Regions from separate parts of the Homo sapiens genome. Here regions 2, 3 and 4 are each linked to region 1. The links are contacts of gene promoters, found by promoter capture Hi-C in human tissues and cell types (Jung and others, 2019). All regions are on one chromosome and are shown on one strand. Each heading gives the region's core, a stretch centred on a gene start or on the middle of the fragment in contact. The rest is flanking DNA. Distances are from core to core; before and after follow the strand shown. Region 1 holds the start of SETBP1 (SET binding protein 1). Region 2 overlaps LINC01478 (long intergenic non-protein coding RNA 1478). Region 3 overlaps LINC01601 (long intergenic non-protein coding RNA 1601). Region 4 overlaps SETBP1 (SET binding protein 1).

Region 1 (3,730 bases), core at 1,011-3,510:
GAACCATTTGCAGACCTTCCCGAATCCGTATCTATCCTATATTGTTTTACAATGTAGACATGTCTCTGAAGGGTTCCATTCGTGTTTCCCTGAAAAGACCCCCTTTGTAGGCCAAATACAAAAACTCAGAGATTACAAATGCCACCATATTTTGTAAGAACTGAAGACATTCCACTTTGTTCTTCCCACCCTGAAAACAACTGCATGCCAGTCTGCGTTTGTCATCTCTCCGTGTCCTTCCCTTCATCAAGTGTCCAATTCTCTTGAATAACGAGAAAATGCACATGAGATCTGAATGCATACAAGTCGCTTAACAACAACAATAAAATAATAATAATAATTTAAAAAAACCCTGAAAGTGAAATATAATTACCAGGTTAAAAAAAAAATGCGCCCAGTTTCGAGAGCCTATCACAGCTCACGTCTGGGCGCGCAGTACCCCCCCGACACTGCTCCTGTTGTGTCAGATAGTGGCAGTGTTGAGCCCAGGAATACGCGCGGAGCCCGCGGCGATCCCCGCGGCCGCTCAGTCTTCGCGGCGGACTCCGGCGCGCAGGAGCCACTGGGCCGCAAGGGCGCCGGGGAGCGGGAGGGGCGCTGGGGGCGGCAAGGGGTCCCAGATCCCAGGCCACGAACTGTTTTCCTTTTCCCCGGGCAAGAGCCCCGCTCCCTTCAACTGACAGAAATTCACTGGGGCAGGGGGGCGAGTGGGGAGAGAGGTCGCTCAGGGCTCGCTACTGGCTGCGCCTCCCCCGGCTCTGGTCTGGGAAGCGGCTCTGGGCCCTCCGGGCGAGCAGCTTGGGCGCCGGCGCCCCCTGCGAGGAAGATCGCGGGGTGACGGTCGGTACCCGTTCGGCTGGGCCGCGCTGCCGCTCCGATCCACCTCCCTTCCGCGCCCGCGCCCTCCCCCTTCCTTTCACTAGGAGTCCGGGATTCGGAGAGGGCGCGGGAGGCAGGCACACGGGCCCGACCCCACTCCAGCGCTCACCGGGGACGCGGGCGGGCGGCGACGGGACGCGGCGGGGGCGCGGGGCGGGCGCGGCCATGGAGCAGCAGCGGCGGCGGCGGCGGCGGCGGCGGCAACACTAGCGACCGCGGGCGGACGAGCGGGCGGGCAGGGCCGCCGGGCTCAGCGGACCGAACTGCACAGCTCAGCAAAAGCGCCCTCGCCCTCCGCGCGCCGCCTCCTGCGAGCCCAAACCCACCAACATTTTTTAACGCTCCAACCCATCCTTTGAAGAAAAGCAAAAAAAAAAAAAAAAAAAAAAAAAAAAGCAAAAAAAGAAAAAGCATTGATCGGAGAGACGGGGATATATATATATATATATATATATATATATATATAAAATTTTTTTTGGCTCCTGCTAAAATTAGCAGGGCTCGCCGCGCGCCTGTGTGCCAGTGTGTGCGAGTGTGTGTGCGTGCGGGCGTGTGTGTGTGAATGTGATTACTCCAGGACTCCTCGGGCTCCGGAGACGCCATTTTCCCCCTTGATATCTCTCTCCATAAATCGGTGGCGCGGCGGAGGCGGCAGAGTCGGGCGGGAAGCGCGGGGCCGGCCGGGGCGCCCGCCGCTCGCCGCCGCCTCCGCGCGCCCGGGGGCCCCGGCGCCCCCCGAGCTAGGGCGGCCAGCTCGCGGCTCGCCGTTTGACAGATGCTCATCGCCATGGAGTTGCCGCAGCAGCACCTTTGGGGGCTCGGGCGAGCGACGGGAGCCGGGATCTGAGCGAGCGCCGGGGCCAGCGGAGCCGGAGCCGCCGGGACATGGGTGAGCACGCGCGGCGACCTTGGCCCGGGAGCCCGGGCGCCCAGCCTCCCTCCGCGCCGCGGGCCCCCGCACTCCCGGAACCGGGGGCGACGTGTGTGCCCTGCATGCAAAAGTTCACGTCGCCTTGCTGGGTCTTTGACTTTGCACCCGGCGGGAAGGGGGAGACCGGGCCGAGGGGGCGGGATGCCGGTCCGGGCGAGGTTGCAGGAGATGGGCGCGATTCCGGCGGGCCGGCGGGTGGGCGGCGATGCTGGCTCAATTGGAGTGGCTCGTTGGTGGCGGCGATGGTGGAAGCTTTGGGCTGGAGGGCTGGGAGCTTATTGAGTTTCGCCTAATCTGATCTACCCCCCCTCCGCCCCCCGCCTTTTGCACCCTCCCTCGGTCCTGCAGCCGGCTGGCGGGGCTGGCGGGTTTGGCGTTGGTGGAGTGGACTCGGGAGGGGGAGGGGGTAAGGAAAGGGGTGGGAAGGCAGGATTTTTTTTTTCTCTCTTTGTAACTTGCAGGTTAAGTGGAGCTAGAGAGCTACATTGTAACCTAGTTGGATTTTTTTGGGGGGGGAATGTATCAGAATCTAACGTGTCGTTAATAGAAAGAAGAACAGGCAAGAAGTGGTCCAGCCGGCGAAGGTTGGTGTGTGCTTGTGTTGTGCCTGTGTGTTAGTCTTTTTCTTAAAAATCTTAATCAATGGATTTGAGTCTCTTTCTTGTGCTCTCTGGTTTTGGGACTCTGAAAAGATAGGAATTCCCTTAAAAGCAGACGAATGCCTTTTTGAAAGCACGCATTGTGTGCGTTTCTAGAGGAGCCGTGGGCTTGGGAATGAACGGCAGGCTTCCCCGTTCGGTGGTTTCCAGTGGGAAATCACTCCGGAAAGGGAACCCTTCGGTATCGATTTATTGTTTTTGTCTTCCAAACCATTATCTCTTTGACCGAAATACTGTCTGAGAAGTTCCGCAGGGACAAAGTCAGGTAAACTGGACCGGGCAGATCTTTGGCAAGATGGTGATAACGGGGATGCTGTTTTCAGTGTCTGTTTGTGATGGAAGCATTGTTGGGTAATAGCAATTTCTGATCGGTAGAGCATGCTGGTTCTAAAAAAATAAGTTAACTGCCGAAATACTGTCTTCCAGCCCCCCTCCCCTGCACAGTACAGCACCTATTCCCCCCGCCCCCCCATCCAGACCGCTTACTACAAGTCTGAAATCGGATCCAACTGGAAATATTTTCATTGGAGATTGAAAGTTGTGCAATTGGAAATAGATGAGGCTAGAGGTATTGAGAGTGTGGAAGGGGAGTTCTTATTGCCCCCTAATGCTGCATTTATTCTTTATGTGTGTCTGTGTTGGATTCTCAGGGTGTGTATCTGTCTAAAAGGACTGTTGTGGGAAGGATTTCCGATTCGTTTCCGTTTCAAATAAACTGTCCTGATAATCTCACGGTTGACATCTAACGCTAAAAGGGCAATTTGTGTGTCTCTTTATCCCTGCAGAAACTCTCCTCCAAAAGGGCAGTTTATTCTGGAATTCTACAGCAGATACCTTTCCCTTCCAGCCCCTACACTCCCCCCACCTCCTGCCAACTATCCACACCTTTCCCCTTAAAGTTTAGTTGGAGTCCACTGGCGTTGATTGTTTTTCTCTTACATCTTTTTCCTTCTTTTTCTTTTCATTCCTTCACTCTTCATCCTGTTTTTCTTCTTTTTCTGTAGATTTATACTAAAAACTAATTTCTTGAAGTCTCTGTACTGTCACCAAAACTATCTGCCGATTTGGCACCATCTCTTACCCTCCTTTAGTAAATAGGTATATCTCCTGTGCCCCATCCAAACTCATCTTCACGTGCAAAGCATGTGTGTGTCGTGGGAGAAAGGGGATGGGGTAGAGAAGAGGTATTTGGAGAGGAAGGGCGGTGTTGTGTGCAGGCCACATCTTCAACACTGGACCAGACCTGGGCATTCCGGGGAGA
Region 2 (3,623 bases), core at 782-3,281, 160 kb before region 1:
ACAACATAGCTCCATCTTCAGATTTCTTATTTGGTGGTAAATTTCTGCTTTTGTTTGCATTTTTGTTTTGTGAAAACCCTCCATCAACATCACCATCTGAGTCCGATAATCAAGATATAAAAAGGAAATGATTTTAAATATATGAAGATTTAATTAAGAGCACCCAAGCCTGTCAAGGTGAAAGTGACCACAGAAAGTGATTAGGAGGGCCATAGTGACACAAACTCAAAAAAGCCTATCACATACTCACACAAAAACTACACAGACCCATGGCATCCAGACACACAAACTCACACACACAAACCAATGCATGCATATAAATACTCCAAAGCCAACCTGTTTGCCATTCTTGTGCAAGGTGGGAAACTGCAATATCCCCTAAAAAGTTAATGTTTCTCATTAGAAAATCTCTTATTTCACTTCAACCTAGTTTCAGATTTTTGTCTCTAAGGTCACTAAGGGTCTCAGCTTAAAGTCATTTCTCCAATTGTTTGTGGCATCTTTTTTTTTTTATTCTTCCCCCTCTTCCTATTAGCAGTCAATTAACTGTAAATTAGAAAATATTGTTACATTTGAATTATTTTGAGCAAATGCAAACACACTATAGAGATTGACAATTCACCCATAATTATCACATTAAACATTTTTTTTGCAAATTTCAGAGCTACAAAAGTACTAATTAGGGAGATTTGATGTTTTTAGTGATCTCAGGTATTTAAGGGAACAACACATGCATATGGGGCTGTAGATACTCTAATTCTTTCTTGGTTCTCTCAGTTATAAAAGCTTAACCTTTATAATAAGTTCTCCTTTTAACCATAAACTTGAGAAACAGAAGAAAATCCACTACTAGGAACATCCTTCACCACCACACAAGCTCAGTTTCCAGGGGCCAAAACAAAAGGCACATTATATATCTTCAGCTGCATGGCCCAAAGGTACCTGACTGGAACTGGGAGCCCCTCCAGCCCAGTCAGAAGGAAAATATTACCCTTCTATTTAACAAGGCAGTGCTGAAGGATTAATCATTAAATAAATAGCAACAAGCCAGGAGATTTACAGGAGGGACAGAACCCCACCCGGTGTTCTCAATTTTTCTGGGATTCAGGATGGAAATTATTACAAGAATAGTTTGGAAGGGGCTTCACTAACAATCACCTTCCAAGGCAAGATGGAACAATGCGTGCAACCTCAAGTAGGACCCAGACAAGAGGGAAGTTCATCACCCAAGCCCTCTGGGGAGCATAGGTTCCTTTTGTCTAACAGCTGGCATCCATGCACAGGATTGATCAAACCTGGAGAATGTGCAAAGCCTGGCCATGTGTTGCTGTGTGACTTTAAGCAAGTCATTTAACCTTTTTGGACTTTGTCTTTCTCAATTTGAAGCGGATATGCTACCCATATTATAAAGTACACCATAACTAGTCATACATAGGAAATAAAAATCTTGTCACTTGGGTTGTTTATGTCTCTTCAGGCCTCCCTCCTACAAGGACAGATCCAAATAAGTCCTGACTCTCTTTAGAAAAAATATTTCTGTAATCTGAGCCAGGAGACCAGAAGCATTTGTCTCAACAAAATGGGGCATATGCCTTCTCTTAGAAAGTAGATCACAATTCTAAGAATGCTTCATGAATGACCTCACCTTTGGGTTGTAACATGTTTGGTCTATTCTATGTGACTAGATGGTGTTGAAAAGATATAGACATTTCATGAAATATGTTATCTCAAAAGTACATCCCTATTAAAAGAGATTGAACAAGAGTCTTTATCTGTGATTAGATTTATTCTGTCTCCTGTTATAATTTGTATGTATGAACTCAACAAAAAATATTTACCAGACATCTAAAGTGTGCTAAAACCAGTGTTCAATGTTCAATAAAATGTAAGAAAATGATGGGACACAATCTCTGTATATATGGCAATTCATAATACAGTCAGGATATAGTAAGAAGAGAAAAAGATAGCACAAATAAAATATGTAAATAAAAATATAAGCAGCATTTGGAAGGAGACATGAAAGCTTCATTTCCACTGTAGCTGGGACAGACCTGTGATGTTGTTTTCCTGAGTCCAGGGTGACCTGGCAGGAAAGGGCAGTGATGATAGCTCCTGGGTGGTGGCACCCTGGTATTGTGCTAGGGGCCAAGCTGCCAAAGAGCATCACTTGGGGTGTCAAGCAGGTAGTAAAGTAGATTTAGACATGTACAGGGACTCATTTCCTCAAGAATGCATTGGAAGGTCAGGTGAGCCAAGCCACAGACTATGGCTTGATCTGCAATCCCAGGCTTCAATCCTGTGCTCCAGATCAGAGAAGGCCTGATGGAGAGTTATCACAAGGGGTCCTTGCTATGAAGTACCCATCAAGAGGACTTCTCACTGTTTTTGAAAGTTTCTGAGGTCTCCTTTGCACAATGTCAACTGTTTAATGTGTAACTAAATTGCCATAGCATGGTGAAAGACAATATCTTTAATGGTACGCGGGTACAGCACAGCCCATAACAATATCATCCCTATGAGCATCAGAAAAAGAAAGGGGTAGGTGTTCTCTGTCACTGAGAAACTCTACTTCAGGTTTATGAAAGGGGCACTATAGTAGTCCCAAACTCTGTACAATCTACATCATGGCAGGGATGATAAATGATAATTCTCCAGGATTGGAGAAAAAAGAAAGAGGACAGATTGTGCTGAAGGGTCTGATCTCAAAGGGCAGACCAATAAGAATCCACTTTAGTTGACTCTCCCTCCATGCTCAACCTCTATGCTTTGGACAAGAATAGCCTCATTTTTTCTATCCTCATGGACTTCGGTGTCTCCATTTCCTCCCTCTTTTGACTCTGCTTGTTGTGAGAGCAAAGAATCTTCCTGAATGGGGTGGATGGTATGGGAAAGAAACCAAGCATTGTTGATTAGGGATTTTCATGATGATTAACAAAACAACAACAAAAATCAAACAAAGGAAATTCAAGGAAGTTGTTATATGAATATTATTATATGAATGACAGAATGTGATTAAGTGTTCAATGAGAAGATTAAATAATGCGTTTTCTGTATGTTTATTGTGGCACTATTCACAATAGCAAAGGCTTGGAACCAACCCAAATGTCCATCAATGATAGACTACATTAAGAAGATGTGGCACATATACACCGTGGAATACTATGCAGCCATAAAAAAGGATGAGTTCATGTCCTTTGTGGGGACATGGATGAAGCTGGAAACCATCATTCTCAGCAAACTATTGCAAGGACAAAAAACCAGACATCACATGTTCTCACTTATAGGTGGGAATTGAACAATGAGAACACTTGGACACAGGAACGGGAACATCACACACCGGGGCCTGTCATGGGGTGGGGGCAGGGGGGAAGGATAGCATTAGGAGATATACCTAATGTAAATGACGAGTTAATGGGTGCAGCACACCAACATGGTGCATATATACATATGTAACAAACCTGCACATTGTGCACATGTACCCTAGAACTTAAAGTATAAAAAAAAATTACCAAAAAAAAAAAATAATAATGCGTGTTCAAAGGTGTCCCAAAAATGCAATAGCGACATGATCTGGAATCAAAAGATAAAGTTCCATAGAGGAAAAGAAAGACGAAAATGCAGTT
Region 3 (3,362 bases), core at 776-3,275, 130 kb before region 1:
TTTCAGGCAATTTACAACTTTAGGCCAGGCCTCCATCTGTTGTAATAAATAGAAGAGAAGATTGGGTAATTACCTATTATGTTGATCCCTGTAGATAGCCACTTTTCCTAAACCCCTCAAATCACTTTGTCTTTAGAAGCATTTCCTTCCTTCTCTTACCCTCGTATTTTCTGACTGATTGTATGGTAAATACTTTGAGGGCAGGGACAGGATCTTCTACGTCCCATATAACTAGACTGCTTGGCTTAGTTGGTGCTAACAAGCACCAGGGTGTCACATGGGGTTTCAGAGGTGGGGCGGGGCACGGGGATCCCATCTCAGTGCTGTACTGGAATCTGCCCAGGATTCTTGTTTATAAGCACAACTGGCCAAGTGCAGACTTTCTGTGATATCTTTCCCTGACTTCTTAACAGTCAAAATTCAGCCTGTTCTTCAAGATTCAATTAATTCCACCTTCTCCATGAAGATTTACCCAAATATGCAAGTTGATTCCCCCCAATAGAATCCCTCAAGCTATTGATGACTCCTTTATAGCCCCAAGTCATACCCTACCTTTCACCGTTAATTATGTCTCCTCAATTAAAATAGAAGTTCAGGGACTGTGCATTTTATTTCTTGTAGTTCTGCCCCACTCACTTCCCTTCTCACCCACTTCTACCCTCAACTAGTATGAGTATGTGGCACAGAATTGAGGTCATATGAAAAATGACAATGTGAATGATTTTTATAAATATGTTGGGACTTACCCATCCAAGCAAAACCTGTTCCCTTCAAAGCAGTTTTCTTAGAAAGCTCAGCATATTACAGCCTTTGATGTTCTCTCCTCTCTCAAGTAGGTTCATCTTTTAGAGGGTAGGTAGCTGATGCTTACTTTATTCTATATTAAATAATCTGACCTCTCCTGTGCTTTCTCTTCACCAACAGACTGGGCACATTTCTCCAGTTGAAAATTGTTTCCAACTTGAAGCACTCTAGTTGAGATTAAAAAGATAAGGCAAATGAAATATCAGAGAATGGCTCAAATATGTATTTAACCAATTGTTGCGTGTCTTTACATTCTTCATGCTCTATGCAGAACAGATCTTTCCTCTTTAGAGCCCCCATAGCATTGGGAACTCCAACAGAGCACACCCCTGATACACGCAGTGGTGGGCTGCTGCCCTGACTCTTGCTGCCCCACCAGACCATGAGATCTGGTGGAGCAGTAAACAGGCATTGCTCTTCTGTCTTTGCCTCAAGCCCTCACATAGTATCTTAATTAACACATCCAAGAATCGACCCATTAACTGTTTTAAAAAAAATCTTTTTCTCTTCGCATTGCTAAAGAAATTCAGGGAAGACACTAAACAGTGTGGATTTGAGAAGCCAAGTAAGATTTCATGGCTTACCACAGACCAGATGTACACTTTAATATAGTAAAATATAGGTAGGTAGAGGAAGAAGGAGGAGAGAAACATGAAGCAAAAATATTGATGCTTTGTCTATTATATATCAACAAGAAAATTGAGGCATATTTCATCATCACTACCCTACATAGGTTCAGTGATTCTATGAATATTGTTCAATCAAGAAATTGCCTCCATTTGGTAAGAGTTTCAAGTTACGGATTACCATGGCTTTGAAAGAAAGCAGAGTGGCTTTGGGAAATCAGTTAAATTTTCTAGGCCTTGGTTTCCTCATCTTTAAAATGAAAATAGTGGTGCTTGTCCTGTCTCCCTAGGATGAAGATAAAGATTATATGAGATAGTATATGTAAAATACTGTGAAAAGTACTAGGGCAAGTATAAGGAATTATCATCTAATTTAGTTGCTGACAGGGGAAGAGAACATAATTATCTGAAGATGGATATGGTATCCATGCTGAGTCACTTGCTTTCAACTCTCTTTTACCCAGGGCCAAAGCTTCTTTATGAGAAAGCACCAGGCAGGTGTAATCAGGCTTCACAAAAGATGGTTCTCCTCCCCTTCCTTTCTCTTTCACCTTCCAGGATTTTGGATCCAAGGAATGCTTGACAAAATGAACTTGAAATTATTTCCTTGCAACTACATTGTCTCTCTTTAATGTTGTAAGAAATATATTTTAATCGCTATTGTTTTTCAATGTCTCATACAGAAAGAGGAGATGTTTCATAAAATTTGATGAATGAGTAAAGTTGCTAACCAACAAAGACTTGAGATTTATTCATTAATTAATTTAGTAATTTATACCAAGGATATATCCAGGTCATTTAGAAAATGGCTCCTCTTTCTTGTGTTTTAGATCCACTAGTTAATTGGTTTCTCTGCCTGGCTGATTGTCAGTCGAGACGCCTACGTTGCTTATAACTAGCATGTCCATAAACAGAGCAAAGTTATTAATTTAATCTGCTTCAGTTGGTAGGCAATGTGGGGGAACCAGCCTGTGTGTACATAGTTCTCTTGGGTTTGTTTACTGGATTACCACTTCAGAAACAGCCAGACTGTGTCTGTCTATACAACACCTACACCACTGAGCTGTTAGCTTGTGTACCCAAACAATTCATTGACTCAGTGGCAAGTGTCAATTGCTTGGCTGAATTTCTGGTTGTTTAATGAAATTGAATAGTTGATTAATTTCAATTGGTTAATCCAATAATGCTCTGGAGACCAACTGTTTTTTAAAGAAAAAATATGTATTTCTTTACTTGAAAACACTAATATTAGTTTTAATCACCTTCACACAATTACATTTTTTTTTTTTTTTTGAGACAGAGTCTCATTCTGTCACCAGGCCATAGTGCAGTAGCATGATTTTGGCTCACTGCAACCACTGCCTCCCAGGTTCAAGCAACTCTCCTGCCTCAGCCTCCTGAGCTGGGGCTACAGGCACATGCCACCATGCCCAGCTAATTTTAGTATTTTTAGTAGTGACGGGGTTTCACCATGTTGGCCAGGATGGTCTCGATCTCTTGACCTTGTGATCCACACCCGCCTCGGCCTCTCAAAGTGCTGGGATTACAGGCATGAGCCACCGTGCCCAGCCACACAATTAAATTCTTTATTCCAGCCTAGGCAAATATAAAGAACATTGGTTTAGGAGCCAAGAGATCTGTATTCTTTCTAGTCCTGCCTCTCCTATTGCCTAATTGCTTGACCTTGGGAAATAAACCTTACACTTCACCTTCTCTCCCCACCACTATGCCCTACATTACTTCTCACTCCCAGCCTCAATGGTATCACTTGTAAATGAAAAGCTTAAACCAGTAGCTCTCAAGTTTGTGTTTTATGAACTTCTGATGCCATGACTATACTGGACTTCCTCATTACAGAATCCTTGTTTATGTAGGCTTCAAATATCTAAGTGCTTGTGACTCCTTCTTATTATGTATATATTATATCTCAGA
Region 4 (3,365 bases), core at 333-2,832, 170 kb after region 1:
CTTTGATTCAGCCCCGCTCAATAATGAGATGCACAGGCACAGGCTGGTAGGCTGCAGCTATCAGCCCCGCCCAGCCCTCAGCCCACCACCTTCAGGGGCTCCTCTGAGTGGTAGGCAGTGATCAGAGACACAGAGGAAACTAAGGCAACTTGCATGAGCCCTGAAATCAGTAACCTCAGTGCCCTCAGCCTCTTTTGAGATCTCCTCATGGCCCACCTACATGCTATACTCTGGCAGTTGTGCCCCCACGTTCTGCACCATTGCTGCAAACATGCAGCTTGGTCCGTCCGTATTCCCATGAAGCTGGGTGTGCAGCCATGGGTCAAACAACAGCTGCTCTGCTTAAATGAATCCCCAGAGGGTCCGGGGGCTCTTCCCCTCCTCTATGCCCCATATATGGCCATGTGATCTATCAGGGCTGGTAGGGATAATAATATTCTCACTAATATCATTTATTGGTATAATAGGTATAAAGCACATTCATGGCCTCCATCCCATTTTATTTTCCCCCAAATCCTGTGAGCTAGCCAGGATTTGGAGGACCTTATTTTCAGAAATAAGGAAACTGAATTTCAAGCAAGTAAAATGGCTTTTCCTGGGTGCCTTTGATACCCATTCTGGTTCTTTGGGGACCAGCCCAAGCTCTGTCATTCTGCCATGTAAGCATCTACCAGCTTCTCCTTCCCCTCACTGGAGAGTGTCCTGAGTGTATCTAATTTCTAATGGTGGCCCCATGAAAGCAGTGATTGCCATGTGTGTCTATTTTTGTGTACAGACTGAACCACTCAAGGGCTGATGAGGTATGAGCAGCTGCCTTGGCTAAATTGCAAGGCTTAAGGGAGGGAAGGGAGATAAGTGGAATTCAACCCCAAAGCCAAGAGTCCTCTGGGCTGGTGGATGCACTAACAAATTTGACCTTGGGGCATTTAATGTTTGGCCAAAAGAGTTTGAAAGAGCACTGGGGAATTCCCTGTTTCTAATAAAAGCTTCATAGAAGAGCCAACATTTCCAGTCACCTCCTGCCCACCTTTGCCCTAAGCCCAGGAAGGCAAGTTGCCAACCTTATGCTGAGGTGGCCACTTACAACTTGCCCATGGTAATAGCCAAAGCCCCTCCGCATTGCCCACAGCTCTCCCATGTGAAGAGATTTAGAGGGCCAGGTGTAAGGGAGAGGAAGGGTACAAAGTTTAACACCAACAATTTCATCTGTTAATGTGGTACAGTATCTTCTCCTGATGATCTCATTTTAGTGGTCTAAGTTGAGCCTCGCCATACCCCTTAAAGATATCACAGGATGGAGGGAAGACTAACTCATATTTATGAGGCACTGACTCCTTTGTCTCATTACAGACATCGAAACATCCCCATCCAAACATCCCTATGAGGTAGCTAATGTTATCCACCTTTTATGGATGATAAACAGAAACTTGAGATTCAGCTTCTAAGAAGAGCTCATATCTGAACTTGAGTATGATTGGCTACTAAGCATGTGTTACTTTGCAGAACACACTGCCCCATCTGCATTCTAACTGCACAAGTGAATAAATTGAGCTGAATATGTGAAATGATAAGTAACTGGAATAAGGTCACAGTGCTAGGTCATGACAGGATTTGGATTAGAATCCAGGAGTCTTAACCTCAGTCTAGTCCTCTTTCTACATTATAAACTGCAGGGGCTCTTCCAACGTGCAAATTACTTTTTCCTGCCAGAAGCCTTCACCATGATGTTCCATCTACCTGAAGTGCCTCTCCCACAGCTCTTCAGTTAGCAACTTCTACTCATCCTTTGGGGGATGGCTTTATTGTCACTTCCTCAGGAAAGCCTTCCTTGACCACTCTCAAATTCTACATCAGACCGGTCTTCATTAATTCTTTTGTCCTACCCATACCTTTTTTCTCATTACTTTTTCTTGAACTTATCACAGCTCTAAATTATATTTGGTTTTCATATTCAAAATAAATGCTGTCTCCCCTAATAGACTCTTGGGTTCCCTGAGAGCAGGGCTTATATATTATTTGTTCATTGGCGTATCCCCAGAATGCATCACAAGGCCTGGCACTTGCAGGGGCTCCCTAAGAGAAAGTTGAAATTCAGAATGAATGTAGCAAGCAGATGAGAGGGGGAAATGAATCTTCAGTTCCAAAGAAACTCGCAGACATGTAGACCCACTGGAATAGGTCCAGGTGTAGCAGACTCACTGCGTTTATCTGGGATTTACTCAGGTACATCTTGAATTCCTAATAATGCAGATTTCTCAACGTGTTCTACAAGGTGGGTCAATCCCAAACACCTTTTGATTCTCCTTCCCTAAGACATCCTCAATGTATGTAGTGCTGCAGCCAAGACAAGCTATGCATCAGCCCACAAACCCACTGTGTGTTAGTGTTCTGCATTGAGGCTCCCAGCACTGAGCCAAACCAAGATGTTCATGGGCTATTGACCATGCCTACCCTACCACCTACCCACTCCAATCTTCCCAACGTCAACAAAAATCATTCTTCAACTTCTTAGGCAAAAACCCTTGGCATCGTCCTTCACTCCTGTCTTAACCTCTCATGCCATAGCTAATCAGTCAGCAAATACTGGGGGCTGTTAAGAAAACAGCCAGTGGGCACTTTTTTTCAGTGTATCTCAAATTGTGCCCCACATTGGTTTTTCTCCTCCATATTACCCCCCATATCTCTCAGAGTCATTCATGCACCATGACCTATACCTCTTAGCTCTGACCTAATGGCTCTTACGTGATGTGGCCTCACTCTGCTGTCACCTCCTACCACTGCCCTTGCTCTTTTTCTCTGCTCTAGGGTGCCAATCTCTTTGCTGTTCCACCAACACTTTGAGTACTATTCATGTCAGTAACTTTGCACATTCTATTTCCTCTTTTGGATTGCTCTTCTCCCAAATACCAGATGGCTCACTCCCTTCTTTCATTCATTTGGGTTTCACTCTAACATTCCCTCCTTAGAGAGGCCTTCCCTGATCAGCTTATTTAAAGCAGCATATCCCCCACTCTGCTTTTTCTTTCTGCTTTATTTCTCTCTTCTTTTATTATAATTAACAGGTTATAGTGTTATGATCGTTATTGTTTATTGTTATTATTTTACTTCATTGTTTGTCTCATTGAGAATAAGGACTTTGGGTTTTTTTTTGGTTCGTTTTGGGGTTTTTATTTGTTTGTTTTTTGTTTTTGTTTTTGTTTTCATTTTGCTATTTCCCTACATCCTAAAAAAATAAATATTTATGTAATGAATTCATTGGCATCTTTCACATGAACTCCGTGCAAAAGTCTGACTACCCTCACACCTGGATTGGCACTGAGGACATGGTGATTCCTGAAGTTGTTGGGATGCCCTGTTCCATACAA

The links. The method cuts DNA at HindIII sites, captures the fragments that hold promoters and counts their contacts. A contact is called where the count stands out against the background at its distance.
Region 2: a contact is called between a fragment that was not itself captured here and the fragment with the promoter of SETBP1 in region 1, in 1 of the 25 tissues and cell types used here (dorsolateral prefrontal cortex).
Region 3: a fragment that was not itself captured here is called in contact with the fragment with the promoter of SETBP1 in region 1 in 1 of the 25 tissues and cell types used here (H1 embryonic stem cells).
Region 4: a fragment that was not itself captured here is called in contact with the fragment with the promoter of SETBP1 in region 1 in 2 of the 25 tissues and cell types used here (aorta and heart right ventricle).

The regions. Positions count from the first base shown.
Region 1 is chr18:44,678,628-44,682,357 of GRCh38, forward strand. SETBP1 (SET binding protein 1) reads left to right here and starts at 2,261. Exons shown (of 6, transcript NM_015559.3): 1 at 2,261-2,394. SETBP1-DT (SETBP1 divergent transcript) reads right to left here and starts at 1,245. Exons shown (of 2, transcript NR_187430.2): 1 at 989-1,245; 2 at 1-262. RefSeq lists silencers at 386-1,025, 1,696-1,945, 2,086-2,135. The HindIII fragment of the contact is 9,552 bases long and covers 1-3,525 here.
Region 2 is chr18:44,520,228-44,523,850 of GRCh38, forward strand. All of the region lies in intron 1 of LINC01478 (long intergenic non-protein coding RNA 1478), which reads right to left. It also overlaps the pseudogene MLECP1. Among named protein-coding and RNA genes, the nearest start is that of LINC01478, 9.7 kb to the right of the region's middle. The HindIII fragment of the contact is 3,422 bases long and covers 321-3,623 here.
Region 3 is chr18:44,548,732-44,552,093 of GRCh38, forward strand. All of the region lies in intron 3 of LINC01601 (long intergenic non-protein coding RNA 1601), which reads left to right. Among named protein-coding and RNA genes, the nearest start is that of LINC01601, 19 kb to the left of the region's middle. The HindIII fragment of the contact is 3,318 bases long and covers 367-3,362 here.
Region 4 is chr18:44,852,120-44,855,484 of GRCh38, forward strand. The region is part of intron 2 of SETBP1 (SET binding protein 1); the gene reads left to right. Among named protein-coding and RNA genes, the nearest start is that of MIR4319, 120 kb to the right of the region's middle. The HindIII fragment of the contact is 5,802 bases long and covers 1-3,365 here.